2 separate regions of the Homo sapiens genome follow, and region 1 is linked to region 2. The links are contacts of gene promoters, found by promoter capture Hi-C in blood cells and fetal thymus (Javierre and others, 2016). All regions are on one chromosome and are shown on one strand. The core of a region is centred on a gene start or on the middle of the fragment in contact, and the rest is flanking DNA. Distances in the headings are between cores, read along the strand shown.

Region 1 (2,937 bases), core at 360-2,859, 960 kb before region 2:
ACTGCTATTCTGGGCTGTTCTGCCTGTGGGTTAGTTGTGCTTTCTGCAGCATCCACCTTGCTGTACACAGTTGCTGTAGGCTTCTCTGCCTATGGGTTAGCCTTGCTTTGTGGAGCACCCGCTTTGCTGTACTATGCTGCTACTCTGGGATGCTCTATGGGTGAGCCTTGCTCTGTGGAGCACCTATTATGCTGCATGCTGCTACTCTGGGCTGCTCTGCCTGTGCGTTAGCTTGTGCTGTGTGGAGCGCCCACTTTGCTGCATGCTGCTACTTGGCTGCTCTGCCTGTGGGTTAGCTTGTGCTCTGTGGAGCACCCACTTTTCTGTATACTACTACTACAGGCTGTGCTGCCTGTGGGTTAGCACACAGGTCGCCCTTTGTTTATGGAGCAGTTTGCTGTACACTATTGGTCTAGGAAGTGTTTTTAAATTAACTCTGAAGCCAAAAGCCCTCCAGGGTTAAGTCCCAATTTTGGGGTTCACCTGTGTCAGCCTGGTGACCCTGAAGGAAGGAACCATCAAAATGAAGAGACCATGAAGGGAGCATCAAGATGAGCGGGTTGACCATCAAGATAAAGTTTGGAGTTGTGATACTGTAATGCTATATACTAGCCAAAGGCTCTTTTCAGAGCCATGTTTTCTTGGTGACTAACTGGTTGTACACTGAAGCTTTGGAAACCTTTGCCTGGACCCAAATTAATGGCCAATTGGCACCATGTGGTTTCTGTGATTTCCCTGTCATATTGACCTTTCTGGGTAAACCAGGAAATGAAAGTGGGGCCTCCAGCTAGTCCCATGTTCAGATTATGTCCCCATTGCCCCGTTTTTGACCATCGTCTATTAAATCTCTAATGACTGGCTACTTGATATTACCATTCAGTTCCTAAATGCATGGTTGTATGTCAGAGCCATGTTCCTTCTAGGATTGGGTTAGAGTCCCACTCTAGGGGGAATTTATTGGGTTATTGTCAGTCCCACTCTACGTGGCGTTAGAATTGAGAGTCCTGCCCTAGGGGCTTTGTTTTTTGGTCACCTTTCTAAGATTGGGGTTTAAATTTCCACTAAGGGTTCTTAATTTGGTCAGCGTTTTTTTACTTCCATACTTAAAGTGCCTTCTTTGTAACATTCCATTAGCTAGTGATGGTAGTTGCCAGCCCACTGCCCACTCATCTTTCACTTTTGTGGCACCTACTTCTTGATACCCATGTTCTTTTGGCAGGAGTCAGTGGTAATTTCCCTACTGCTCTTGAAGAAAAGGGAGGTGGAAATTTGAAAGGAAAAGTAACTGGACTCTCTGGACTTGGAAGAATTTCTGGGTTTAGTAGGTATCTCTGGTAGACATAACAACAGTGAGCGTCCTGAAACACTTCCTGCTAGGGTGCCTTTTAGGCAACTAAAGCAAATTCAAATTTGATGTCTTAAAAACTCATCTTCTATTATAACAGTGTTTAGTACAAATTAATTTCCCAAGAAATTTGGCCTAAAAATGGTTCACTCTCCCTGGAGCCTCCTTGGTGCCTTAATATGAGGAAGGGGGTCCTGCCAGTTCTCCACTACAGGATTCCATCCCAAGTTCATCAGGCACCCCTCTGCTTTAACCAACTAGCTCCAGCCTATATGCCATACTGCCTGAGGAAATAAGTCCAACCAGTCTAATCAGGAGTGATAAAGTCCTATCAGCCCTTAAAATCAAACTTACATCTATTGTGAGAGGTTGAGACGTTGCTAATGGCGGGAACAGTACTTGTGCCTTTTTCCATGTCTGATTTAGCTTCATGCAAGGGAAACATTGGCTGGTATCAGAGGATCCAGGGAAGTTTATAGTTTGATGTAACTTGGCATGACTTGCAAATAGTGTCCACCTGCTGTGCTGTAGAGGAGAAACAAGGGATTTTTGAATACTGCCTGGGCATATGCTGATGGAATGGCTGCTTGTAACCAGGATCATGCCATTTATTGTATGTGGGAGTGTACTTCCAGATTTGGACCCCCATGGGATTACCAGAGGGGTTCCTGAGATCTCAAATGTAGAAATCATAGGTAACTTGTTTAATAGAAGATATGAAAGTGTGCTTAATCCAGTTAATTATGACAAGGTTAGAGAAGTAACTGTAGGGGAGGATAAAAATCCTATTCTAGTCAGGGCTGTTTGGTTGAGGCACTCAGGAAATATTGCAGGACAGACTCCCCAGAAAGGCAAACTCTTTTATCACTCAGTCTGTCCTTGATGTTAGGAGGAAGCTATAACAGGCAGAAAGGGGAAACGCAAACTCCTATAAGCCAATTTTTAAATATGGCCTTTCCAGTTTACAACAATAGGCACAGGTCAAAACAGGCAGAGATAACCAAAAGAAATAATATCCAAAATGCAATTGTTAGTGACTACTTTAAGCACCCTCTCCCACCTCAGGGTTAGCCAGCCTGAGGAGATTTGAGATCAGCATCTCAGATGCCCAGATGAGAGCCCCGAACTTGCTGGCCCCAGGGCCAATATCACTGTGCCTTCTGTAAGCAAGAGGGCCATTGAAAAAGGGACTGTTCCAAGCTTCAAAGGGAGCCTAGGCTACCCAAACCCATAATGGCCAAGAAAACAAGACTGACCGGGCCCAAGGTCCCCCACAGCTCCCACTGGACACCTTACCATCTCCATGGAAGAGGCTTAGGTAACTTTTGAAGTGGCAAATAAAAATATTTAGTTAAAATGTGTTCTTATTGAGATAATAATTTTGTCAAATTCAGAAACTATATAAAGGTTGATTCAAATTATGGATTAGAAAAGGCTATGAAATAAGGAATCTATAAGTAGGAGAGAGATGTGAAGAAAGTTATGGATGTGGAGATGTATTTTTGGTAAGGAAGGTCATAAAGAATGATTGTATAAAGGAAGGTTATAAAGAAAAGAGCATAACTGTATATGAAAAAGGATCTTCAATTTTA
Region 2 (2,700 bases), core at 56-2,555:
TCGGTTTCTAATTTTCAGTTATGTGGCAGTAGTCTCCCCAAGCACTTGAAATGTAGCCCTTCGGAAATAATGTCAGTACTATGCCACTTGTCCTAAGACGTACTCCTCTGAAGTCCCTCACTGCCTGCCATACTCGATAGGGATAACCAGTAGGCTTGTAACCAGCACAGAAACTGATACACTGTGCCGTGTTTGGAACTCGGAAAAACCCAGCTTAGAAACCCGGGAAAATCCCAACATTTTTTTTCCCATGCTATCTGGAGGCCAGGGCCTGCTAAAAGTGCAAAGCACAAGGGAGGCCCAAATGGGTTCAACTCCGACACTCGAGAACGCAAAATCGAGATGACGCCACTGCACTCCGGCTTGGGCGACGCGACGCCTTAGTCAAAAATAGCTCCGGAGACACACAAAATCCCACTCCTCTCCCCGACTTTGTTCCCGGGAGACCCGCCCCTGCTTAGCAGCGTTTTCCCGAGCCACGCCCCCTAATAGTGCAACAGCTCTTTTACTGAGAGCGGTGGGTGGCTCTGAAAAGAGCCTTTGGGTTGTGTTGGGCTTCTAAGCAGTTGGCCAAAGGAACTTTCTACTTTTTCTTGGCTGCCGCCTTCTTTGGCTTGGCTGCCTTGGGCTTGGCGGTCTTTGGTTTAGCCGCCTTGGGTTTAACTGCTTTGGCCTTCGCTGGGCTCTTGGGCGCCTTTTTTGGCTTGGCTGCTTTCGCCTTTTTCGGGCTTTTCGCTTTTTTGGCTCCAGCAGCTGCAGCCGGCTTCTTCGCCTTCTTTGGGGTCTTCTTGGCGCTCTTCTTGGGGGTGGCCGCCCCCGTCGCCTTCTTGGGCTTCTTCGCCGCTCCTGCTGGCTTCTTGGCCTTGGCCGCGCCTGCCTTTTTAGCCTTAGGCTTGGCTTCCCCAGAGGCCGCCTTCTTGTTGAGTTTGAAGGAACCCGACGCGCCGGTGCCCTTGGTCTGCACCAGGGTGCCCTTGCTCACCAGGCTCTTGAGACCCAGCTTGATGCGGCTGTTGTTCTTCTCCACGTCATAGCCAGCGGCTGCCAGCGCTTTCTTGAGAGCGGCCAAAGATACGCCGCTGCGCTCCTTGGAGGCGGCAACAGCTTTAGTAATGAGCTCGGACACCGGGGGCCCAGACGCTTTGCGCTTGGCCGCACCTGCAGACTTGCGGGCCTTCTTCTTCACGGGAGTCTTCTCGGCAGGGGCCGGAGCAGCGGGCGCGGCAGGCGCAGTCTCGGACATGTTGAAGGCAAGCGTGAGCGAGAGCAATTCGAGCCGGAAGCAGAGGCACTGGCCGGGACTCGAGCCGCGGCGCTGCGCCCGCCCGTTTATATAGGGCGGAGCTGCGCCGTGATTGGTGCGCTGTCCAGCCCGCCTCGCTGGCAGCCGCAGAGTGTCCTCTCGGATCCCGAGTTGTGTTTGTTACACCTCAAAAAAAGCCAAAAATATAAAAATTGTCTACACCGAACTGCCCGGTTTTTCTCAGATAATGATCCCCGAACCCTCAGGCTTCACGCAGATCTCAAATTATAAGGGAAGCACAAAGCCTTGTGCCAAAAACTTGCAATATTTCCCGCCGTGCTTGGCAAATTTCAACTCAGAGAAACAAAACTTTCTATTTTCTTCGTAAATTATAAACCGATCTTTAACTGTGGACTTTTCTGACCTCTCAAATATGATACTCCAAGTGGTTAGCTTCTTATATATCCAAAAAGCATGCCACTGGCATTAAGATTTTTATTACAAATCTGCACTTAAGTGAGGGAAGTAACACAGGCTCCTCGGAGAGTCCTGCCTATTGAGCCGAGGGCATTTGAGTTCATCAAACTGGTTTAGTTTAATGCCAAACAAATTATTGCCCATTTGAGATTAAGTTTTGGACCCCTGGGACATCAATCTATACAGCCATGGTTTTACATCTGTCCGCTACATCTGAGTTTTTAAACAATTCTTTGGATAATTCTTTCCCTTTCTGCTCCCAAGGGTTGGGGGCGGGGCTGTTGCTTCTCTCTTCCTCTGGACAATTGCTCCATGGATTGAGATACCTTGAATTCAGGGTATTTGGGAACGAAGGGAAGTCCAAAATGTACTCAGGGTACAGAGATGAAAAAGGATTAATTTTCAAATGTGATGTTCATAAAGTCACTGGAAGTGGAGGTGCACTTTACTTTAAAGCATTTGTCTGCAGCCTTGCTGAGTGCTTTTGGCATATGCTTCAGAACCAAATTGCAATAAAGTAGCTTAGAGCTGAAATTCAAGCATTGATGATAAGGCAAAATAAATAAGAAACGTAGATTGAAACATCTACTCCCATTATTAGTGAAACCCAGCCCCTATTATTACTGAATAGTTGAGGAATGACTAGTCCACTCACCACGTATGGTTTCAATCCCCCTGAAGATTGTATTCCAATGCTTCCCAGAGCTCAATAGAAAGAAAAATAAGTGACATGTAGTGATTAAACGACAAGTTCAAATTTCGATCTCAGAAGTAGAGCTTTGAGAGTCTATCTAAGCTATTATAAATCATTGCCCTCTGAAAACATCCTTTGAACAATGTCTGAGTGAATTTCTTTAGGTAGTTGCCCAATCAAGAAGAGTGTATGTAAGCTGGCAATGAAAGCCCAACCAAAAGAATTATTTCTGGTCCGGGCGCGGTGGCTCACGCCTGTAATCCCAGCACTTTGGGAGGCCGAGACG

The links. The method cuts DNA at HindIII sites, captures the fragments that hold promoters and counts their contacts. A CHiCAGO score of 5 or more calls a contact.
Region 1: a fragment that was not itself captured here is called in contact with the fragment with the promoter of H1-4 in region 2 in 1 of 17 cell types (naive B cells); the score reaches 5.5 in naive B cells.

Annotation. Positions count from the first base shown.
Region 1 is chr6:27,112,087-27,115,023 of GRCh38, reverse strand. No RefSeq gene overlaps it. Among named protein-coding and RNA genes, the nearest start is that of TRS-GCT1-1, 16 kb to the right of the region's middle. The HindIII fragment of the contact is 1,876 bases long and covers 672-2,547 here.
Region 2 is chr6:26,154,934-26,157,633 of GRCh38, reverse strand. H1-4 (H1.4 linker histone, cluster member) reads right to left here and starts at 1,305. Exons shown (of 1, transcript NM_005321.3): 1 at 519-1,305. The coding sequence starts at 1,243. The coding sequence ends at 584. RefSeq lists enhancers at 1-72, 802-881, 1,142-1,301, 826-1,577 and a silencer at 462-511. The HindIII fragment of the contact is 19,818 bases long and covers 1-2,700 here.